2 separate regions of the Homo sapiens genome follow, and region 2 is linked to region 1. The links are contacts of gene promoters, found by promoter capture Hi-C in human tissues and cell types (Jung and others, 2019). All regions are on one chromosome and are shown on one strand. Each heading gives the region's core, a stretch centred on a gene start or on the middle of the fragment in contact. The rest is flanking DNA. Distances are from core to core; before and after follow the strand shown. Region 1 holds the start of GPR4 (G protein-coupled receptor 4). Region 2 overlaps OPA3 (outer mitochondrial membrane lipid metabolism regulator OPA3).

The links. The method cuts DNA at HindIII sites, captures the fragments that hold promoters and counts their contacts. A contact is called where the count stands out against the background at its distance.
Region 2: a contact is called between a fragment that was not itself captured here and the fragment with the promoter of GPR4 in region 1, in 2 of the 25 tissues and cell types used here (mesenchymal stem cells and spleen).

What each region holds. Positions count from the first base shown.
Region 1 is chr19:45,597,038-45,603,688 of GRCh38, reverse strand. GPR4 (G protein-coupled receptor 4) reads left to right here and starts at 1,477. Exons shown (of 2, transcript NM_005282.3): 1 at 1,477-1,594. RefSeq lists enhancers at 5,039-5,675, 5,676-6,313. The HindIII fragment of the contact is 53,447 bases long and covers 1-6,651 here.
Region 2 is chr19:45,555,139-45,561,963 of GRCh38, reverse strand. All of the region lies in intron 1 of OPA3 (outer mitochondrial membrane lipid metabolism regulator OPA3), which reads left to right. Among named protein-coding and RNA genes, the nearest start is that of OPA3, 26 kb to the left of the region's middle. RefSeq lists enhancers at 1-112, 3,435-3,935. The HindIII fragment of the contact is 5,882 bases long and covers 1-4,626 here.

The DNA.
Region 1 (6,651 bases), core at 228-2,727:
GCTGGGATTACAGGCGTGAGCCACCACGCTCGGCCAGAAAACAATGTGTTTCACACCTATCACCTGCCCAGCAGTCTTCTAGGCAACAGACATGCAACAGTAAACAAGCCAGACACAAAAATGACACTCTTCCTAGTAGGAAGGCAGACAACTAGAAAAAAATAAGAGAATGTTGCCTTCCCCAAAGGGTAGGGGAAAAGTGAGGCAGAGAAAGATGGGGAGTGTTGGGGTCTGGTTGGCATATTTTACAGACTTGATAGCATTGACACCATTAAATGAGACCGCCAGGAGAAAAGGACCATGATGGCCGGCCTCGGTGGCTCAGGCTTATAATCCCAGCACTTTGGGAGGCCAAAGCAGAAGGATGGCTTGAGCCCAGGAGTTTGAGACCAGCCTAGACAACATAGTGAGACCCCTGTCTATAGAAAAAAAAAATTTTTTAAATTGGCCAGGTGTGGTGGCACACGCCTGTAGTCCCAGCAACTCAGGAGGCTGAGGTGGGAGGATCACTTGAGCCTGGAAGGTTGAGGCCGCAGGGAGCCATGATCGTGCCACTGAACTCCAGACTGGGCAAGAGAGTGAAAACCTGTCTCAAAAAAAGAAAAAAGGTGGGGCACGGTGGCTCACGCCTGTAATCCCAACACTTTTTGGAGGCCGAGGTGGGCAGATAGCTGGAGCTTAGGAGTTCGAGACCAGCCTGGCCAACTTGGTGAAACCCCGTCTCTATTAAAAATACAAAAATTAGCCGGGCGTGGTGGTGTGTGCCTGTAATCCCAGCTACTCGGGAGGCTGAGGCAGGAGAATCGCTTGAACCTGGAAGGCAGAGATTGCAGTGAGCCAAGATTGTGCCACTGCACTCCAGTCTGGGCAACAGAGCATGACTCTGTCTCGAAAGAAAAGAAAGAAAAAAGCAAAGCAAAGCAAAGCAAAGAAAAGAAGGAAGCAAGCAGGCACCATGAGTGACCACCTTGATTCAAAGAGGAAACTGAGGCACGGAGATGTCACTAGCCTAAGGTCTGACCAAGAGTCAGGCTGGAAATGCAACCCCAGAGCTCCTTCTAGGGGTGGCCCTGACTTTGGAGTTGGGGACCTAACAGAACCCTTTATTCTCTCCGTTGTTGGGGAGGAAGATGCAGAAGGTTAATGACCAGAGGATGAATGACTGAAGCCTGGGGTCTCTAAGGGAGGAAATGGCTTAACCCAGGGAAGGTCAGTAGCGGGGGCCTCCTCTTCCCATAGCCGAGGACCTGATAAATTTGGGGGTGTGTGGTTGGAGAGAGGGGACCTTCCAGCTGGGGACTTGGAAGGATTCGGGGGTGTTCCAGTAGCAGATGAGCCTCACCCGTGGCTGGAGGCGTTTAATGGGGTGAAGCCTGAAAGGGGTTAAGGGGCAGCGGCAAAGGTGGGGTTAATGGGGGCGGGCCTGGCCGGGGCGGGGCCTCGGCTGGCGGCTCTGGCCCGGGGGCCGGGAGGAGTAGCCGCTGTTCTGCCCCGCGGGGGCATCCGCTGGGTCCCCGCGCCGTTGTCAAGACCGGGGACCTGGACGCAGCGGAGAGAGGTGCCGCCGCCCGCCCCGTCCAGTCGCCGCGCGCAGGTAAGTGCCGGGTCCTCCCCGGCTGCCCGCGATGCTGCGGGGTCTCACTAGGTTGCCCTGCTCGTGGCGAGACCGCTCCTCCCCGCCCCCTCGGGGGCTGCCTCAGTCTCCCGCGCCGTCTCGGTGCCCGCCCCCTCTGTTGCTCTCCCTGGCTTTGCGTCTGTCTCCAACTCCCGCCTGATGTCTCTGTGTCTGTGGTCCCTCTGCCTCTGGACGTGTCTTTCCTTCTGTGTCTCTGGATGTCTCTGTCTTTTTCTTGATCTCTGCCTCTCTGTCTCCGTCTGTCTGTCTCTGTCTCTCTGTTTCTGGGTCCCACCTCCCTCTGCCCCTGCCTCTGCCTCACCCCCGTCTGTTGTGGGACCTCTGCGGATGTCTCTGACTCTATCTCCATCTCTCCCTGTCTCTGTGTATCTCTTTGCTCTCTCCCTTCCTGTCTCTTCATCTCTATTGCCCTGTCTCTTTCTCTCCGTCTCTTATAACACTGTTTTGGCACCTTCAGCTCTGTCTTCTCTCCTTCCAAATCCTCCGCATCCCGGAACTTTCCTCTGGGCTGGGAACCTGCTTGGGAGTGGGGTAGGGGGCAGGAGGCTTGTGACCTGGGGCAGGCGGACTCTAAGTGACACCATGATCCCAGCGCCCCCTTCACGGAGCCACCCCACTGCCCCTCAGGTCGCACCCAGCCCGCCCGCCAATTTCAGGAATTCCTGCCTGGGGGGTGGACTTCCTCCCCTACTTCCTCTCTTCCAGGATTTGGCTGGGTCACCATTAACTCTTTCCTGCTTCCGCCTCACTCTCCCCCCTGGAACTGGACAACCCCTCCTCCCAAACTAGGCTGAGGAATAGCTCTAGGATATCTGTGAGGCATCGGTTGTGGGATGTGTGTGTGTGCGTACTCAGGCTGGATATGCATTGGGGAATTTGTTTGGCGCAGAAGTGGAGAGGATGGGGCCACACCCCCCAGTTCCCCCTCCAGAGCCCACCATCAGCCCCCCTCCTCCTGAGCCCACCAAGGGGGTATCCGCCCCCACCTCTGTCTTTGTAGATGAACTTGACTTCAGGTTTGGGGTGAGGATGAGGAGGTTTTCTTTTCTGGGGGAATCCCAGCTGAAGAGGATGAAAGACCCATAGGGGCTCCTGGAACCCTGGGAATCCTATGATCAAGTACCTTGAATGTGAACATCTTTGAATGGAAGGGCCCAGATGGAAGAAGCATTGGAGGGGAGGCCTGGGAATTCCAGATCTTTCCAATCAAAGGTCCTGGGGATACTGGAGTCCTTCAATCCAAAAAGAGGAGTGTTGAAATCTTGGCACGTTTCAGTGATGGCAGCTGAGAGCTGGAAAGGGTTTGCGGAGCCACCTAGGCCAACTCCCCCTGCCCCCATTTTATAGATGGAGAAACTGAGGTCCAAAAGCAGAAGTCCCCACAGTGAGTCAGTGCCAGGCTGGAGGGTTGGGACCCCAGTTTTCAACTGAAGCCCAAATCCACAGAGCTGGCTTCTTCTGCTACCACTAAGTCGGATTAATTTGGGGAAAGAGGTCTTCTCAATGAGGAGGGAGAGATGCCAGGGTGAGTAGAAATGGCTGGAATCCAGAAGGGAGGGTTTTAGAAGCAGAGGAGAGAAAATATTTCCAAAACCATGGTGGTGGGGAGGGAGAGGGGCAATAGTTGGTTTGGGTGGAAGGGGTGGAGTTTCGGGAAGAGAGGGAGGGAGGTGGAGGGGAACCGGGATTAACTCCAGCTTCAGTCTCCTGACCCTCCGCCTGGAGCCCACCGTTCCCTCGGGGACAGGGCCTATAATTTGGTTTGTGTCTAGACAAATAATAACTCAGCTGGTGTGAGCGGGGAGGGCTGAGGCTAGGCCCACTAGCGAAAGGGTAGAGAGGCGGCCTGGATATAGCATGTCACCCCCAGGTGGTGAGAATTTAGGGGCCAGGTGGAGGTGGTGACTAACACGCCCCTCTCTTCCCTCCATGAAGCCATAATTTCTTAGAATTCTGCACAATCTTAGAAATCAGGCTGCTGGAATGTTCAAAAGCAGGCGAGAGAAGGGGGGAAAGAAAAGGAAGTGGGGCTCACCGTATTTAGTGTATGTTCCCATTTCTGTAAAAGAGAAAAGGGAAATACATATTCCTGTTTGCTGGGGAAAGATAAAAATCACTGAGCGTTTAATAATAGATTATGAAAGTCATAGAATGCTTAAAAAAATCATAGCGTGTTCTAACAATAGAACTTTCGAATCTTGGAATGTGACACTCCTAGAATATTGGAAACTTAGGGTAGGTACTTACAAAGCCACGATGTAATAAATAGAATGAAAGAAGAGTAACGCTCTAGAATGTTATAATAGAACATTCAACTGCGAAGTGAACTAAGGATAGAACCTGAAGACTGCAGAACCATAGAGACCTAGAACGTCAGAGAGGCCATCTAAGGACTGGTATCCCTAGTAGGCAGTGTGGGCTTTGGGGGCACAGAGACCCTCTCGGTTGAAACAGGGATACTGAGGTGCAGTGGGGCCGTTAGGGTAGCCCGATTGCCCCCTGGTTTCCGCCGGCCGCCAGGGCACCAGGTGGGGAGCGAGGACCAGTGATCACATTTCGTCCCTAATGAGCAGACCGGAGCTGGCTGGTCCCTTGGGGCTGCAGGGAGAAGGCGGGGAGGGGGGGGTGGTGGGAGCAGGAGCCCACAGAGGAGGAAAAGGGGGAGGTGAGATAGCCTGGTGGCATCGGGGACAAGGCTGGTGAGTGAGCCCAGGGGTGCTGGGGGATGCGGGGGGCTGTAGCACTTCTCCCTCTTGTCCTCAAAATCCTCCAAGTTTTTCAGCTTTGCTGGATTTTGGGGTGGCTGGCAGGATGCGGCAGCCGAGGCTGCTAAAGTTGGGGGGGCCAGGTCTTCCTAGTCTTTCCTGTCCCCCCACCATCTCTCCATCCTTGGGTATATTTCTCTTCCCCCCGACTCTCTGGAAGGGGCCAGCAGGGACCCAAGAAGTGGGGGCCTGTGGGACAGACAGGGGGAGCTTCTTGTGGATGTGAGATTTGGGGGTTTACCCCCTCAACAGAGCCTAAGGGGCAGAACTTAGATCCCAACCAGAGAGGGTCCTGGAAGGGGAACGGGGTTATGGGGATCAGGTGATGGAAGGTCGCTTGCTTTCTTTGTGGGGAGAAGGTCGTATCTTCTAGTAGGTTCTCAGAGGGGCCAGAGACGCTCAGAAAGACTTGAGAAAAATTACAGAAGTTCAGAGAGTGAAGAGAAAAACCTCAGGGGAAGGGAAGCTGTTTAGTTAACAGCGACAGGAGGTTTGCCCAGTCTTGAGACATCAAGTGACTTAGACAACTGCCTTGCTGCTGCGGGCCTCGGTTTCCCCATCTGTACCAGGAAGGGGTCAGAAATAGCCTCACACTCCCAGCTGCCACACATACGTCGGCTGCACTGTGGCGTTCTAAGAGTCTGACGTTCCATGCTGACTTTTGGGGTTTCCACGTTGGGCAGATCTCACGTGGGGAAGAAGAGAGGGCTGTCTGGGCACCCCTCCCCCCCATGTCCAGCATCCGCAAGATGCCAGCAGGTTGGGGAGGAGGGGTGGGAGGGAGGAGGGGTGAGAGCTGGACCGGTTCCCCCTTGAGGAAATTAGCAATGGGAAGTGTATTTCCTCCTCTGGCTGCCGGAAGTGTCTCCTGCCCGGGTACCCGAGTTAGGTCAGCAGAGCCCTGGGGGTCGATAGAAAGTGGGGCAAAGGGGACTTCTAGCCCTCGGTGGGTGTCTCCTGCCATGAAGAACCGGTTTATTTCTTGTCTCAGCCCCCTAGTCCCCGTGGAATAATAATAATCGTTCAAATACTGCATGTTACGGAGCTGATATCGCATTCTAGCAAGGACGTTCCGGTCTGTGATGTGATGACTATAAAGCCTGTGCCCCCTTTTACAGAAGGGAGAAACTGAGGCTCCTGGAGACCTAATTCTCTAAATGTCACAGGAGGAAGGGAGAGACTAGGGGCAGAGAGATGGGGAGAGAGAGGGCAGAGGAGAGGGGAGGGAGGTTATTTTGAGTGACTTGGTCTGGGTGGGAGGTTTCAAGTGGAAGGGAGGGACTGGATCACACTGTTCCAGCCTGGAGTACGCCCCCACCCATCCCATCTCCACAGGACCCACAAGCTTCTGCCCAAGAGTCTGGGGTGGGGGAGGCAGCTCTGCCGCTGAGGACCCCACAGGGGGCAGGACTTACTGAGCACGACTCAGCCCTGACCTTTCAAAGTCAATTAAGAAGCGGATAGATCTTGCCCTTTCCAGCTCTCCCCTGACCACCTCTTCCCCTGGGAATGGACTCCTCTCCCTCCCTTCCCCCTCCTCCCCATGCCCTTGTTTGAGCCTGGGGTGGGGTGGGGCAGCCTCATGGGCAGAGAGTATGTTTTTACTCCATGCCTCTGGCCTCTGCAAAGCTTCTGGAATGGTTTTTGCCATTGGCAAATGGCTCTGTGCTCCCTGACCATGACCTTGGTAATTTATTGAGCACCTACTGTATGCTGGGCCTGTCCTGGATGCTGGGGATACAGCAGTCAACAAGGCACACAAAGTCTCTGCCCTCCTGGACAACCTATTCTAGGCAGACAGACACAAACAAAACAGGGTGATGTGAGGAGAGGGTCCTGGGGCAGGGGAGAGTCGGGGACTGAATGGAGAGGGACTCCCGAGGAAGTGAAGGAGGGAACGGAGCTACTCAGACTATCTGAAGGAAGAGCAGTGGCTCACATCTGTAATCCCAGCACTTTGAGAGGCCAAGGTGGGTGGATCACTGGAGAACAGGAGTTCGAGACCAACCTGGCCAACATGGTAAAACCCCATCTCTACTAAAAATACAAAAATTAGCTGGGCATGGTGGTGCACACCTGTAATCCCAACTACTCAGGAAGCCAAGGCAGGAGACTCACTTGAACCCAGGTGGCGGAGGTTTCAGTGAGCCGAGATCGTGCCACTGCACTCCAGCCTGGGCGACAGAGTAAGATTCTGTCTCCAAAAAAAAAAAAGAGCATTCCAGACTGAGAGTATGGTAAGTGTGCAAA
Region 2 (6,825 bases), core at 436-2,935, 42 kb after region 1:
TATTTATTTATTTATTTTTGAGACGGAGTGTCGCTCTGTTGCCCAGGCTGGAGTGCACTGACTGGCATGGTCTCGGCTCACTGCAGCCTCTGCCTCCCGGGTTCAAGCGATTGTCTTGCCTCAGCCTCCCGGGTAGCTGGGATTACAGATGCCTGCCACCACGCCCAGCTAATTTTTGTATTTTTAGTAGAGACGGGGTTTCACCATATTGGTCAGGCTGGTTGCAAATTCCTGACCTCAGGTGATCTGCCCGCCTCGGCCTCCCAAAGTGCTGGGATCTTCCCCATCTTTTATTATCAGCCAACTTCCTTGTATGAAAGATAAGGATTTGATGTTTTTCCTTTCCCTCTCCCATATTAAATAACCTCTCCCTCCTCCCTAGTATACAGTTCCGGTTACCGGTTCCACGGGATTTAGCCTCTCAGTAGCCAGCATGTTCGTCATGGCCGTCTTGCCATCGTGGGCTCTAGCAGTCACTACTGTGTCCTTATGACGACCCTTCACCATCGAGTAGTGGACCCTATGAGGAATACCTTCCCTTCATTTTACAAGGAAGCAGCCATCGTATGCAGGCGTGTTCCCAATAGTGGGGAAGAGGTGCTTTGTCCTTTTTTTCTTTCTTTCTTTTTTGAGATGGAGTTTTGCTCTTGTTGCCCAGGCTGGAGTGCAATGGCATGATCTCGGCTCACCGTAACCTCCACCTCCCAGGTTCAAGCGATTCTCCTGCCCCAGCCTCCCGAGTAGCTGGGATTACAGGCATGCGCCACCATGCCTGGCTAATTTTGTATTTTTAGTAGAGACAGGGTTTCTCCATGTTGGTCAGGCTGGTCTTGAACTCCCGACCTCAGGTGATCCACCCACCTCGGCCTCCCAAAGTGCTGGGATTACAGGCGTGAGCCACCGCGCCCGGCCTGTCCTATTTGTGCATAAGCTCCCGAGCCCCGGTCCCCCACCACGGAGGGAGCTGTTTGGTCTTAGCAGCACATTTCCTGAGGAAAGGGTTGCATTCCAGCCACCTGCAGTTTCATGCTCAGAAAAATCTTGAACAATAGTTAACTGTGGCCAAGTACGTCACTTTACTTGCCTCAGTGGGTTAAGATATCCCTCCTTTCCCGGGGAAATCTCTCTGGGCTTGGTCAGCCACTGTGTTGTGACCTAGAGTGTCTGAAGTGCCTGTGGCCTGGAGCTCCGGGGCTGAGAGAGATCTGAGCATAGGAGTTTGGGTCCTGAAGTTCTGAGTGGCCCCTGGAAGTAGATGTGACAGTCGAGTGAGAAAAGGGCTTAGGAAATGGTGCCCTGAGAAATGACAGCCACTGAGGCCGAGGAAAGGGTCTATATCAGAGACAGATGTGTAGAGGGGGCCTGGAGCCAATCCAGGAAATCCAGGAGGAGGGGCAATGCACAGTGCCACATTCTCGAGGGGACAGATAACACCAAAAGCATCAGGAGAGAGAGAAGGGAGATGGGGGAGCCAGAGACAGGAGCCATACCCATTGTCCATGGTCACCTCCTGGGCACCTCCACAGATCAGCTTTTTCATTAAGTGCCTGCTCTGTGCCTATCTGGGGCTGGGGACAGTGCAGTGACCGAGTTAGCCTCAGGTCCTGCCTGCATCGGCCTCACAGTCCAGTTGGAGAGACAGACTTGTCACCATGCAGTGAGGACCCAGAGCAGTCAGAGCTCAGATAGAGGATCCCAGGGGTCTGGAGGTCAGGGAAGGCTTCCTGGAGGAGGGGACATCTGAGTTGGGATTCTCCGGTATGGAAGACAGATGAAAGGGAGTGAGTCTGGAGGGAGAGAGTTCAGGGAGGAGACGGAAAACGATTCTATGTAACCCAAGAGTAGATTCACACCAGTGGGTAGGATGTACTTCCAGGAATAAAATTCCTGACAGAAGTCAGGAAGAGGATATTAGGTTAACATTTACAAACTGAGCATTTTCTCCCTTACTCTGTCATTGCCATTCTCCCAATCCTGTCAGTTGAGTATTTTGACCCCCAGTTTTGATAAGGAAACACCAAGGCTCAGCTTGCGAATCCAGAAAGTGACAGAACCAGGATTTGAGTCCAGGTCTGTGCGACTCCAAAGGTCTTGCTGCCATTTATTAAGGCCGGCCTCGTGTTAAGCCCAGGGAGCTTTGAGAACCTTGAGAATGTGTCTGACCCAGCCTATGGTTCAGGGAGGGCTTCCTGGAGGAAGGGACAGTCCAGCTGAGATCTAAAAGAAGAATTGGGAAAAGACAGGAAGAGAGAAATGGAGGGGGCCAGGTGCGGTGGCTCACACCTGTAATCCCAGCACTTTGGGAGGCTGAGGCGGGTGGATCACGTGAGGTCAGGAGTTCGAGACCAGCCTGGTCAACATGGTGAAACCCTGTCTCTACCAAAATATACAAAAATTAGCCAGGTGTGGTGGTATGTGCCTGTAGTCCCAGCTACATGGGAGGCTGAGGTGAGAGAATCACTTGAACCCGGGAAGCGGAGGTTGCAGTGAGCCGAGATTGTGCCACTACAGTCCACCTGGGACAGCATGGCGAGACTCCATCTCAAAAAAAAAAAAAAAAAAAAAAGAAAGAAAAAGAGGGAAAGAAGAGAGAGAAGAGAAAGAAAGAAAAGAAAAGAAAGAAAGAAAGACCATTGTCCATATTCTTTTAAGTAATAGAGAAAGTAGGAATACTGACTTACTCATTTTATGAGTCCAATAGAATACTGATATCAAAGCCTGATAAAGTCATTACAGAAAAGGAAAATTATAGGTTAAGATCTCTCATGAAGTTGGAGTTAGGCCAGACACGGTGGCTCACACCTGTAGTCCCAGTACTTTGGGAGGCCAAGGTGAATGGATCACTTGAGGTCAGGAGTTTGAGACCAGCCTGGCCAACATGGTGAAATCCCGTCTCTACTAAAAATACAAAAATTAGTCGGACATGGTGGTGGGCGCCTGTAATCCCAGCTACTTGGGAGGCTCAGGCAGGAGAATCACTCGAACCCGGGAGGCAGAGGTTGCAGTGAGCCAAGATCAAGCCACTGCACTCCAGCCTGGGCAACAAGAGCAAGACTCTGTATCAAAAAAAAAAGCACCAAAGTCTCATGAAGCAGCACTCAGAGGGTCTCCTCTCTGCCTTAGTCACACCACACTGGAGAGTGTTTCCATGGCCACTGCATTGCAGAGCGGAGATCATGCCACTGCACTCCAGCCTTGGGGACAAAGCGAGACTCCGTCTAAAAAAAATAAAAAAAAAAAACAGCAGAACATAGAATAATAAAAACTGCATACAAATCCCCTGTAGAAATGGGGGAGCGGAGAAAGGGCAGGCCGCATGGGGGCAGAGTGCTCACCTTTCATAGTGGGGCTGGATTATGAGTAGGTAACGATGGCGTAGATCTGAACAAACCTCCAGTTGAAGAGCTCAGAAATGAGTGAGGTATGCTTACTATGGGCTGTCCAGGAGATGGCGCTAGGGGAAAACAGGCTGGCGACCGCAGTAGTTGAGGGTTCCTCTGAGGAGGGGACTTTGGCTTTACATTTTATAGTTTGAGTACTTTGTTTTCTTGCCATGTGTTACTTTTATTTGCGGCAGGAGTTGGGGGTGGGGCGACGGGGAATGGTAGGTTTGTTCTTTTCTTTTCTTTTTTTGAGACAGTCTTGCTCTTGTTGCCCAGGCTGGAGTGCAGTGGCGTGGTCTTGGCTCACGGCAACCTCCACCTCCTGGGTTCAAGCGATTCTCCTGTCTCAGCCTCCCGAGTAGGTGGGATTACAGGGGCCTCCCACCACGCCCCGCTAATTTTTTGTATTTTTACTGGAGATGGGTTTCACCATGTTGGCCAGGCTGGTCTTGAACTCCTTACCTCATGATCTGCCTGTCTCAGCCTCCCAAAGCGCTGGGATTAAAGGCCTGAGCTACCGCGCCCAGCCAGTTTGTTCTTTTCTTCTCACCAATTCCTTCTGATTGCTGCGTGGGGGACAATTGCAGAGGGGTGAGGCTGGGGCCGGCAGGTGGGAAGGAGGCTGGAGGCGGGACTCACTTATGTGTTAAGCTTAGATCTAATGAGCATCATGCGTGTGCCTGGCCTGGCACTGGGCAGTGCTGGGGACACAGCAGTGACTGTGACAGCCCTGGGCCCCACCCTTGTGAGGCTTACAGGACAGTGGGGAGACTGATTGCAGACAGGTAACTGGATAGCCACTATTCCTGGTTGTGATAGGCACTCAGAAGGGGATAGACAGGCTGTATTCCTCCTATTCAGGAGGTCAGGGAGGAGAACGTTGGTCAGAGCTGGGATGGATCCTGGACCAGGACAGCAGAAGGGAATCCACTGGGAGAGATGTTCAAGATGCAGAATGGACCCGACACGCAGCTGAGAGGCTGTGGGAGAAGGGGAACAGCTGGGCTGAGGCCCCCGTCTCTAGCCAGGGGACAGGTGTGGGGCCAGGTGCTGGGTTCAGGTTTGGATGTGCTGAGTGTGAGAGGTCTAGGAGACATCTGGAGCGTGTTGACCCCCGCAAGTCTGGTGAGTCCTCCAGCTTAGCCTGTCCCGGCCCCTCACAGCTGTCCCTTCTAGAATCACAGCCCTGTGATTCATCCCCACCTGGGCCTTGTTTCCTGAACCCCACATCTGACCGCTGGCCCGAGGGAGAATGCCGTCGGCCCCTGCTCTGAAAGCCCTGAAAGCCCATGCCTGCGTGCACACACGCGTGCACACACACACACACCCTCTTGATTTGATTTCCTGTGGCCTGGGTATGTGCCCACTCCCATTGGCACACCTAGACCCACCTGCTGGCCCAGATCCCCATGCTTGGTCTGCACTGAGACACTTGCATTTCCACGCTGGGAACCTCACCCAGGAAGGCTAGAGGATCTGGAACCCTCACCCCTCACCACTCTCTGGCCACTGTGCTAGGTGTCCCTGACATGAAGGAGGCAGTGACAGTTACGGGCCCAGCTCTGGGCCACCACCAGGTCTGGCGAGTGTCATTGTCAGGATGATGCTGTCCTTCCTGTGTTACAGAGGGGCCTTGGGGCAGGCTGTCATTGCTCAGGCAGCAGGTGGCGGAGCCCCGGGGGGACCCCAGATCAGCCTGACCCTAAGACCTCAGTGTGGGAGGGGTCTCCACAGCCTGGACCCCAGGAACCCACAAGCCCAGGGCCTAAGTCACAGCTGTAACAGTAACTGCAGCAGCTGACAGTGACAGTGACAGTGACTTCTCGGGCCCTAAGCTTGCACCTCAGGTCTTCCCTCCAGCTCCAGCAGAGCTCCCCAAGCCTTCCTGCCACCCCACCCCTTTGAAGATGAAAAATGTGTAGTGGCTGGGCTCAGTGGCTGTCTCCTGTCGTCCCAGTACTTTGGGAGGCTGAGGCAGGATGATTGCTTGAGCCCAGGAGTTCAAGACCTGCTTTGGCAACATAGCAAGACCCAGTCTCTACCAAAAAACAATTTAAAAACAGCCAGGCATGGTGGGGCATCTATAGTTCTAGCGGCTCCAGAGGCTGAGGCAGGAGAATTGCTTGAGTCTAGGTGTTCGAGGTTGCAGTGAACTGTGATGGAGCCGCTGCCTTCCATCCTGGACCACAGAGTGAGAGCCCATCTGTTAAATAAATAAATAAATAAGATGGAATATGGCAAGACCCCATCTCTACCCAAAAAAAATAAAATTAGCCAGGCATGGTGGCATGCACCTGTTGTCCTAGCTACTCAGGAGGCTGAGGTGGGAAGATGACTCGAGCCTGGGAGGCAGAGGTTGCAGTGAGCTGAGATTGTTCCACAGCACTCCAGCCTGGGCAACAGAACGAGATCCTGTCTCAGAAAAAGAAAAAATAAATTGTGTGCCCTCTAGTGCATTTTCAAGTTGACAAGTAAAACTTTTCTTCATTAACCTTAAGTAGTTGTGAAGGATGGAATTTCTGGTTCTGGTGTGTTATGATACTGACATGTTCAAACAGCTGGTGCATCCTTCCCTTCATATTTATTGCAGTTCGCATACAATAATGATTTGATGCCTACCAATGTCTGGTTTAAAGATATATATATATAGGCCAGGCATAGTGGCTCACGATTGCAATCCCAGCACTTTGGGAGGCCGAGGCAGCCAGATCACTTGAGCCCAGGAGTTCAAGACCAGCCTAGGCAACATACTGATAAACCCCATCTCTATTTTAAAAAAAATACAAAAATGACTAGGCACGGTGGCTCACGCCTGTAATCCCAACACTTTGGGAGGCCGAGGTGGGTGGATCACGAGGTCAGGAGATCGAGACCATCCTGGCTAACACGGTGAAACCCCATCTCTACTAAAAATATAAAAAAATTAGCTGGGCGTGGTAGCGGGCGCCTGTAGTCCCAGCTACTCAGGAGGCTGAGGCAGGACAATGGTGTGAACCCGGGTGGCGGAGCTTGCAGTGAGCCGAGATCGCGCCACTGCACTCCAGCCTGGGCGACAGAGTGTGACTCCATCTCAAAAAAAAAAAAAATATTAGCCAGGCATACCTGTAGTCCCAGTTACTCAAGGGACTGAGGTGGGAGGATCATTTGAGCCTGGAAGGTCGAGGCTGCAGTGAGCCATGATTGCGCCACTACACTCCAGCCGGGGCGACAAAGCAAGACCCCGTCTCGAAAATAATACAAATAAAAACAAGCTCTTCTTTTTCAGTCAGAAATTTCACATGGTTTCTTTTTGTTCATGTACTTTTGTATTTACAGTCCACATACCCACAGAATTCCATCTAGTGATTTATATGTCGGCAACCAAAATACATACAGAAATTTACATGTTAATTTCCTGTGACCATAAGGTTCTAAATGCTAAGTTATTTTCTTCTGGATTGAG